2 separate regions of the Homo sapiens genome follow, and region 1 is linked to region 2. Evidence: promoter capture Hi-C in 16 types of primary human blood cells and fetal thymus (Javierre and others, 2016). All regions are on one chromosome and are shown on one strand. Each heading gives the region's core, a stretch centred on a gene start or on the middle of the fragment in contact. The rest is flanking DNA. Distances are from core to core; before and after follow the strand shown. Region 1 holds the start of FZD8 (frizzled class receptor 8). Region 2 holds the start of ZNF33B (zinc finger protein 33B).

The links. Contacts are between HindIII fragments. The CHiCAGO score rates a contact against its expected background, and 5 or more counts as called.
Region 1: a contact is called between the fragment with the promoter of FZD8 here and the fragment with the promoter of ZNF33B in region 2, in 1 of 17 cell types (total B cells). The highest score is 5.6, in total B cells.

Annotation. Positions count from the first base shown.
Region 1 is chr10:35,640,718-35,645,558 of GRCh38, reverse strand. FZD8 (frizzled class receptor 8) reads left to right here and starts at 3,263. Exons shown (of 1, transcript NM_031866.3): 1 at 3,263-4,841. The coding sequence starts at 4,130. It overlaps LOC124902528 (zinc finger protein 469-like), which reads left to right and starts at 2,713. Exons shown (of 2, transcript XM_047426128.1): 1 at 2,713-2,929; 2 at 3,146-3,831. The coding sequence starts at 2,713. The coding sequence ends at 3,831. MIR4683 (microRNA 4683) reads left to right here and starts at 4,307; the gene lies at 4,307-4,387. It overlaps LOC105376494 (a long non-coding RNA gene), which reads right to left and starts at 2,244. Exons shown (of 2, transcript XR_930820.3): 1 at 643-2,244. RefSeq lists a silencer at 4,715-4,804. The HindIII fragment of the contact is 11,239 bases long and covers 1-4,841 here.
Region 2 is chr10:42,637,252-42,642,343 of GRCh38, reverse strand. It overlaps ZNF33B (zinc finger protein 33B), which reads left to right and starts at 3,774. Exons shown (of 5, transcript NM_006955.3): 1 at 3,774-3,870. It overlaps LOC105378268 (a long non-coding RNA gene), which reads right to left and starts at 4,039. Exons shown (of 2, transcript XR_945898.3): 1 at 3,791-4,039. RefSeq lists silencers at 469-763, 3,855-4,024 and enhancers at 4,215-4,484, 4,144-5,012. The HindIII fragment of the contact is 7,213 bases long and covers 3,039-5,092 here.

The DNA of each region.
Region 1 (4,841 bases), core at 2,014-4,513, 7.0 Mb after region 2:
TGTTAGTATATGCCAGGCTCTCTCTTCCATCCAGATTCTTATATTGGATTTTTAGATGGTAATCCACTGGAACATGATTTCCCCAAAGTTTCTTAAATTTGTTACAGACAGTATTGATAGTCCCCTGTCTAACTCGGTAGCCAACGTTTTGTAAAACCTTCCCTCCTCTGAGGTAGATTCCTGATTCCAACTGTTTACATTATTTGCTTGCAGGCCATTCAGCAACAAGCCATCTGCTCAGAAATCCCTTTAGAAACTTCCCTACATTATTTATGTCACTACTAAAGCTATTTCCCCTCCCCTAAAAAACAGCTGCTTTACATACAATGAAAATATCATTATTTAGCCATAGAAGTTGATATATGTTCTGGTTACTTCTAGGTAACCCATCATTACCTTTTACGCACTAATTGGCTACAGAAGTCTCTCCCTTCTCTGAAAGACTACCAAGTAGCCGTTTAATTTAACAGTAGATGTAAAATGCGATTCTTATATTCTCTCAATTAAAAGTACATTTGTCATGACTTTTATGTAACTGGTTTTAACCTCACAAATCACTAAGATCTCCCAAATAGCTGATATGATTTTTGAAATTCTGAACTTCAGTCTGCTTATTTTCTCATGCAAACTTAACATACTTACCCAAAATTTCCACATTCCACATCATCAAACTTTTCATCTTGTCTCAAAAGAAAAAAGAAAAAAAATTTAAAGCCAATTAAGAGCCAAAATCAACCATTTTCAGCTTCAATTTCAATTTTCAAATGTCAGTTTGTTTTTACCCAATTCTAGCAAATTTATGTAGTGTAATTCTAAACTTCACTATTTGACATTTCCCCGTGGAAGAAAAGCAACAGAAACTTTTCACCATCTGTGTTGCTCTTGGAAACCAGCCCCTCCCATCTGTGGTGCGGGCAGTGCAGCACCCTTGCTGGTCTTTGGGGCTCTGCCTGCACCGCTGCCCTCAGATCAGCACTGGAACCTCTGGCAATTACCTGCAGCTGATGCGTTCTGGAGACTCGCCCTCTGGAAACAAGGTGCCAACCGCAGAGATAGTGAATTTCTACATTCAACATACAAGTGGGAATTCCGATTTGCAGGAGGTGAGAAAAGAAAAAAAATTTTTTAATCAAGTAAAGGTCTAGTCTGTATTTTTGAATAGCCCGTTTTCTGCTGAATCAGCTAATATTTCTGAAGCCTTTGAATTCCGAATTCCTACGGACTTTAGTTTTTCCAAAACAAAAGTGGGAAGGAAGTGTTGTTTTTCAGTATAAAGAGGTTCAACTCTATAGACTAAAACTAAAAAAGTTAAAAAGATAGGGGGGTATAACTATAGATTGGTGGATATGCCTAGAACACAGAACTTGCCAAAAACGGGGCGCTGGGGCAGGGTGCGGTCTGACAGTCTACTTGTAATATGTTTCATAATGAGGTTGCTAACTGAGCTACAGAAAGCAGGAGGAGGAAGACATAGATGCCATCAGCTCAAGCAATCTACAAATACTGCTGGTTATTTTTGTTTTATGACAAGAGTTGTTTCTGAACGGACAACCACGAGCTACCACCACCACCAGCAGCGCCCCGAAAACCGGAACTGGCCTCAAATGTACTTTTAATTCTTTTGCTCTGTCCCCACGCCCTCTGCAACTTTTGTTCTCCAACTGTACTTGTTCCGGTATGAAACCTGGCAAATAGCAAAAATCTTGAAACAAGAAGAGAGTGAGAGAGCGGAGAGAAAAGGGAGGGAAGGAAGGAGAGGGAGGAGGGGAAGAGGAGGAGGGGGGAGAGAAAGTGGTGGGGGAGAGAGAGAAGGAAAGGAGGTGGGGAGAGAGAGAGAGGGAAGACAGAAGAGAGGCAGGGAGGAAGAGGGAGAGAGGGGGACGGAGATGGGGAGGAGGCGGGAGGGAGGGAGAGAAAGAGAGAGAGAAACATATTCTGCCACCCTCCTGGCTAACTGAAATGCTTGTTCCCGAGATTACAGTAATTACTGCCCCAGCATGAGTTCCATACAAGCGCTAAATGAAACAGCACATCAATTAAAAAATAAACACTCCATTCTAGGAGAAAGACAGCCCCCTGGGACGCCCTAACAAGCGTAAATGAACCTGCCAGGCCGCCGGCCCGGGCCGCCCGCAGCCCCCCTCCCGGCCCGTCTTAAGGTGGCGGCGGAGCCGGCGGGGGCAGCGTTCGCTGGCGGTGGCCCAAGCGGCTGCTAAAAGCAGCCCGGGTCCGGCTCCGGCCTCGTGCAGAGAGCAGATACGTGTCGCGGAGTCCACGCCAGAGCGCAGCGCCGCCTCCCACCAGAGAAAAGGAGGCTCTGGCAAAAGCCTGTGAACTTGGGATGGATGAATAGACGTCCTGAAAGAACGAAGGGAAGACAGGGAATCCAGCCCCAGAGTTTCCAGCCTGTCCTATTTATAAGTTTCGAGGTTTGTTTTGAATTTTAGAAAGAAATTGAATGATTTTTCCTAAGAAAGCACGGCGGCTCGGGGCTTCCTATATTTTATCTCACCTAATTATCAAAGCCCCCTTGGAGATCTGTGCTATGATCACCCAACTCTCTAGGTGGGGAAACTGAGGCTCCCCCAGGTCACGCAGCGGAGGCGGGAGGAGAGTCTCTGGCGGGCATTTGTCCCCCGCGCCCCTCGCGCGCCCAAGGCTGGGCTCCGGGGCATCTCACCCGGGCCGTCCCGGGTCCAGCCCCAGTTTAGAATGACTCCACACCCCCCACATCTCCAAGTCTCAGAAACCATCGTTCTGAGAACCCCAAGGAGGACACCCTTTCCCGGGTCTTCTGCAGCGCCGAGCCCCGGCAGGCCTCCCCGGCGCTCGCCTGCTGCGAGACCTTCCTGCCGCCCCGAGGAGCACGAGACCCCAGCCGCCTGCAGATCACCCACATTTGCGGAGGGTGGCAGCAGGGGCTTGGCTGGTTTGAAACGCGCCGGGGAGGCGCGCGCTGCACCAAACCCCGTCCCTGTCCCCAAGGGCAGACTCGGGGTAAGGGGACCAAGACCTCCGACGCACTCAGCGCCATGGGGACAGCCATGGCCAACACTCTGTCTCTGCGGTCAATCCCAAGGTTACCAAAACTCTCCATCCGCAGAGAGCGCGCACAGCAGTGCGGACACTCGGGGACTGCCTTAAGGAAGGCTGAGCCCTGGGAGCGCGTGGACTCCGCCCTACCGCCCGGCGATTGGCTCGCGGGGCTGGGGGCGGAGACCGAGTCCGCGCTGTATAAATATTCATGAGCCGGCAGCGCGGCGCGAGCGGGGCTGGAGCCGGGAAGTTGGGCTAAGGGCGCTGCTCCCGCCGAGGAGGAGGCGGCGGCTGGGCGCGGGCCGCGCCACTCAGGTGTCCGCTCCGCCTTCCGGTCTGGATTTGCTCCTGGGTGTCCAGCAGGAAGGAGACTGTGTGCACCTCGCCCGACTGCGGCCGGAGCGCGGCGCTGACTTTTCCAGGCGGCGGGGGTCCGTCTGTCCCGGCGGCGGACGGACGAAGGACGGACGCCGGAGAAAGAGGGCGGCGGCCTGGGCCGAGGCGGGTCCCCAACTCCGGCGGCGGCGGCGGCGGCTTGGCCTTGGGGGCGGGCATGAGCCCCCGGGGGCCGAGTGGTGGCCGCCAGGGCTGACCCGGCGCGGCAAGCGGCCCGGCCCAGCCATCTTGACTGCGCACCGCGGCCCCAGAGGAAACTTGCGGCGCCTCCGCCCTCTCTGTCCGGCGGAGTCACCGCCGCCCGGCGCGGCGGGGAGAAGTGGTCGGGCGCGCGGAGAGGAGGCGAGCGAGCGCGGGACGATGAGCCGAGGCCCGGCCGCTCTGCGCCGCGAGGGCTGAGCGCGACCCGGGGCCAGCAGAGCGGACCTACGGACTGTGGCGCGCGCCTGCAGCCGCCTTCAAACCCCCGGAGCGGCGGAAAGGAGTGCGGAAGGGCCCTGCCCAGGCTGCGGGCCGCGCCGCTGCGGACGCGCCCCTAGAAGGGGTTAGATTATCGGCAGACCCCCCTCCCGGGCGAAGCATAAGGGAGACCCCAGATCACCCGCTGTACCCGTCTGCGGCTCTCTCGTGGGCCCCCCCCCCGGCACCCCTCTGCGCGCCGCCTGGAGGGCGAGGGCACCGGGCCGAGGCGCACAGCATGGAGTGGGGTTACCTGTTGGAAGTGACCTCGCTGCTGGCCGCCTTGGCGCTGCTGCAGCGCTCTAGCGGCGCTGCGGCCGCCTCGGCCAAGGAGCTGGCATGCCAAGAGATCACCGTGCCGCTGTGTAAGGGCATCGGCTACAACTACACCTACATGCCCAATCAGTTCAACCACGACACGCAAGACGAGGCGGGCCTGGAGGTGCACCAGTTCTGGCCGCTGGTGGAGATCCAGTGCTCGCCCGATCTCAAGTTCTTCCTGTGCAGCATGTACACGCCCATCTGCCTAGAGGACTACAAGAAGCCGCTGCCGCCCTGCCGCTCGGTGTGCGAGCGCGCCAAGGCCGGCTGCGCGCCGCTCATGCGCCAGTACGGCTTCGCCTGGCCCGACCGCATGCGCTGCGACCGGCTGCCCGAGCAAGGCAACCCTGACACGCTGTGCATGGACTACAACCGCACCGACCTAACCACCGCCGCGCCCAGCCCGCCGCGCCGCCTGCCGCCGCCGCCGCCCGGCGAGCAGCCGCCTTCGGGCAGCGGCCACGGCCGCCCGCCGGGGGCCAGGCCCCCGCACCGCGGCGGCGGCAGGGGCGGTGGCGGCGGGGACGCGGCGGCGCCCCCAGCTCGCGGCGGCGGCGGTGGCGGGAAGGCGCGGCCCCCTGGCGGCGGCGCGGCTCCCTGCGAGCCCGGGTGCCAGTGCCGCGCGCCTA
Region 2 (5,092 bases), core at 2,525-5,024:
ACATTTTATACACATGTCAAAATATCAGTCTATATCCCCTAAATATGCACAATTATTAGGTGTCAACGAAATGTAAAAGGGAAAAAGGTACAAAAACCGAAGAAGAAATGAGAGGAAAAAATGAGCCTCCAGAGTTAATCAAATTCACCGTAAAAATGAATAGCTGTGGCCAGGTGTGGTGGCTCAGGCCTGTAATCTCAGCACTTTGGGAGGCCGAGACTGGTGGATCACCTGAGGTCGGGAGTTCGAGACCAGCCTGAACAACATGGAGAAACCCCGTCTTTAGGAAAAATACAAAAAATTAGCCAGGCACGGTAGCACATGCCTGTAATCCCAGCTACTTGAGAGACTCACTTGAACCCGGGAGGCAGAGGTTTCAGTGAGCCAAGATCATGCCATTGCACTGCAGCCTGGGCAACAAGAGCAAAACTCTGTCTCTGTCTCAAAAAAAAAAAAAAAAAAAAAAAAAAATAGAATAGCTGTGATGGTTAATGGTTAATTTTATGTGTAAACTTGACTTGGTCACAGGGTGTCTGGATTAAACATTACTTATGGGTGCATCTGTGAGGGTGTGTACAGATGAGATTAGCATTTGAATCAGTAGACTCAGTAAAGCAGATTGCCCTCCGTATGTGTATGGACATCATTCAATCCCCTAAGGGCCTGGATAGAACACAAGGCAGAGAGGAGGAATTCACCCATATTTTCTGCCTCATTGTTGAGTTGGGACATTTCATCTTATCCTTTCCTGTCCTTGCACTGGGATTTACACCATTGGCTTCCGTGGTTCTCAAGCCTTTGGACTCATACCAGAATTACACCACCAGCATTCTTGGATTTCCAGCTTGCAAATGACAGATTGTTGGACTTCTTAGCCTCCATAGACATGTGAACCAATTTCTCATCATCAATGTCTCTTTCTCCCTTACTCCCTCCTATTGGTTCTGTTTCTCTGGAGAATCCTGATTAATACACTGGGAATAAACATTTCCCCAAGCCCATACCATAGGTGTATATTAGTGTTTTTTACAATCTTTTCAAATCTTAAACTTAAAAATATTTTATTTATTTACAATTTCTCCCAATTGGAAACAACTTGCATATCCCTGGACTGGGGAATGGACAAGGAAGCTGGTAAATCCATACCAAGAAATAGGAGTCAGCAATGTCAGAGTTGACAAATTACTCTTCAGAAAGCTTTAGTTCCCTGTTGTTTGTTGCTCAAGACCAACTTCCTTGTACTTCCTTGTCTCCAAGCTACCTGTTCTGTAAACAACCTTCCCGCCTTTGCCATGCCCAGACAAGTCCGGATATGCCTTCCCGCTTAGTAATGGACAGTCCCCCTTCCTTCCCGCCTAATAGACCCTGTCAATTTTAAACCTTAGCCAATCGAGTTAGCTTTGATTGTGAGGTCTAATCCCAGCCAATGGGGAAGGGACACAGAAGTGCTAGGAACTGCATCAGGGATAAAAACCCCTGCCCTGCCCTTCTCGGTGTTCTCTTGTGATCATGACTGGCATAACCTGCACCCTTCTGCAGAAGTAAATTTCTCTTGCTGAGGAATTTTCTGCCTTTGTGCTGGTTTTCTCTGCGGCACCAGGCACTTGTTTCTAACAGCAAGAAAAACAGAAGTATTGGTACACAAAACAACACGGAAGGATCTCAATTGCATTGTGTTAAGTAAAAGATACCAGATTCAAAGACTGCATATTGTATGATTCCATTTATATAATATTCTAAAAAAGGCAAACATACAGGCCCAAAGACTAGATAGTGGCTGCAAGAGGCTAAGAGTGGTTAGAGAATCTGACTTTCAAAAGGTAGCATGGAGGAATTTTATTGACAGGTGAAATAATTTTGTATCTTGCTTGTGGTGGTGGTTACACAAATCTGTGCGTTTGTCAAAACTCATAAAATTATGCAACAAATAAAGTGAACTTTTCAGTATATAAAGCATAAATTTAAAAATGTAAATTTCAATATGTTTCACATATTTTTACTCAAATATTTGCATTTCCTTTTTTCTTTTTTTCTTTTTTGAGATGCAGTCTCACTCTGTCACCAGGCTGGAGTGTAGTAGTGCGATCTTGGCTCACTGCAACCTCCACCTCCCGGGTTCAAGCGATTCTCCTGCCTCAGCCTCCTGACTAGCTGGGACTACAGGTGCGCACCACCACGTCCAGCTAATTTTTGTATTTTTAGTACAGAAGGGGTTTCACCATTTTGGGCAGGATGTTCTCAATGTCTTGACCTCATGATCTGCCCGCCTCAGCCTCCCAAAATGCTGGGACTACAGGCGTGAGCTGCCATGCCCGGCCATATTTGCATTTCTTTCAATTCTCATAATGGACTTAAAAAGTTTTGCTGGAATGGAGCTGCTTATTTTTCTCTATTATAAAATGTAACTGATATTAAATTTATAGTTTCTGTCTTTGGTATCACATCCCTTTTTGGTTTTTTTTGAGACAAAGTCTCACTTTGTCACCCAGGCTGGAGTGCAGTGGTGCCATGATGGCTTACTGCAACCTGGGGCTCAAGTGATCGTCCAACCTCAGCCTCCTGAGTAGCTGGGATCACAGGCGCCTGCCTACATGCCCAGCTAATTGTTATTTTTAATTTTTTGTAGAGACAGGGGTCCCACTATAACGCCCAGGCTGGTCTTGGACTCTAAGGATCAAGTGGTCCTCCTGCCTCCACCTCCCAAACTGCTGGGATTACAGGTGTGGGCCACTGTGCCTGGCCCACATGTCAATTTTCAAAAATTTATACTCGTTTAAATGTTTCAATACTGTATACATGTGAATTTTATCACGTGTGATCTATATATATCTCTATATTCCAAATTGTTAGGAATGACATGCTCTTTGGAATACTCCATTCTTTCCCTCACTGTTTTGAAATGCTGTATTTACTACACATTAAAGAATACTCTCAATCATGGTGTCTTATTTCCATGGAGCAGGTGCCAAACTACTTTGAATAGAGCAATATTATATATATAGATAGATATAGATATTTCTCAGGCATTTTTTCAAGCTTTTTAAAACGTATAATGGCTGTTCATTTAGTTTTTTACTTACTCTGGATAAAGTTGACAATGCTTTTGTAAAGTACACAATACACTAAAGATCAAAGAGAAAAAATACATAAAAAAATTTGTTGATATTCTTTTAGGAATTTTGTCTTCCTAAGAAAGGTACAGATAGACTAAATGTATTTCCATTTAGTCAAGCAATTTTAATGTCACAGGGGAAATCATGTGACATTTATTTTCTTCTTTCGGATTATGTCTATTTTCTGACTTTTCAATTTCCGTTTATTGCGTTAACGATTTTGATGAAGTAGCTTTCCTGTGGCACCTCCCCCATCCCCCCCATCCCTGCTCTCAAAGAATCGCTGATAGTGTCAAAGTCTTTTAAACTGTATCAATAAGATCTACTTCCTAACATTTAAAGTGAAACTGACACACAGCTGTCCTTTCCTTGAGGCGTCTGTGTCTAACCTGCACACTTGCTGCACACAGACCTCCCCTGCAGTGCATCCCTTTGGGTCGCCCCGGGAGAGCCAGGGCTGCGGGCAGTTCCCACACCAACTCAGACCGCATCTGTCCACTGCCTAGCGGGGCACCTCTCTGCCAATCCCGAAGGGCTGCTCTCGCGTCCTCACGGGAAAGGTAGTTTCCAGGTTGGGCGCCAACAGCGCCAGGCTTTGAGCGTGGGCTCTGCGCATGCCTCATCCACTGGCTACCTCTGCGTTTCTGCGTTTCCGCCTTTCCTTTTGTTTGTCTCACGTTTTGCGTGGGAGGCGGTCCCGGGATTTCAGGGGTCTACCGGCTCTCTTATGGCGAATGCAACCCGAAGAGAGAGTGAGGTAAGCCTCCGCGGGTTGGGCAGGGACGGAGAGGGGGCCCCGCGCGACTCCAGGAGCAGGCAGCCGGGGGCCAGTGCCAGGTGGTGGCGAGGAGTCCCGGGGACCTCACGGAGAAGCCGGGGACGGCGGGGCTGCAGCATGTCTACCAGGACGCTACGCCAGTTCCTCTAAGGCGCAGCCTCTGTAGGGAGCGGGCTACGCCCTGTGCGTTGCCCTGTTTGTAGGGGCCGCGGAGGAGGGCATGTGCGCTTGCGCGGTCCGAGCGCTGAGCCTTGCGGGAGGGGCAGTTCTCTGGTTGAGCGTGTTTACGCCCATGTGCTAGGGCGCGGCCCTACCTGGGTAGGAAAGGGCGGGTGCAGTCGCCCGCCCGACATACGGACTCTGTTGCCCGTTCTGCGTTCATCCTCTTTAGGTTTCGAACTGCCCTCCAGTCATGTCCATCACCCCATCTTGTTATTTGCTGTTCCTCTGTCCTAACTTGATCTTGCACTCAGGAAGGATCTTCAAGAATTACATAATTTTGGCCTAGCGCGGTGGCTCTCTCCTGTAATCCTGCACTTTGGGAGGCCGAGGAGGGTGGATCACCTGAGGTCAGGAATTCGAGACCAGCCTGACCAACATGGCAAATCCCCGTCTCTACTAAAAATACTAAAAGTAGCCATGCGTGGTGGCCTATGACTGTAATCCCAGCTACTGAGGCAGAGAAATGCTTGAACCCGGGAGGCGGAGGTTGCAGGTAGCTGAGATTGCACCATTGCACTCCAGACTGGGCAACAAGAACGAAACTCCGTCTCAAAAACAAACAAACAAACAAAAAACCAGAATTACCTAATTTTGCCTCATTTGTTAGAAGAAAAAATAATTTTTTTGTTTTTTGTTTGTCAAGGTTACTGACTTGTTCAGGATCAAAGTTTGTTAGTAGGGAGAACTAAAAGTCACTTCTCCTGACCCCTAAGCCAGTACTACTTTTCTACACACATCAAAGCAAGTTTAAAACATCCTTTTGAGAAATAGCAACAAAGTTAGATGAAGAAATTAAAACGGATTTTTTCTTTGAAGCACTGACGCTTATGGTTTTCTGTGGACTAACTCATCAGAGGTTAAGTAACATTACTGGGAAAATCGATAGCCTAGTCCTATTCTTTACAATGGTTTTAGTGTTAATGTTTTTTCATTAAATGTATTGTTAACTTGTTTGGCCAATATTGTCATTATACATTTT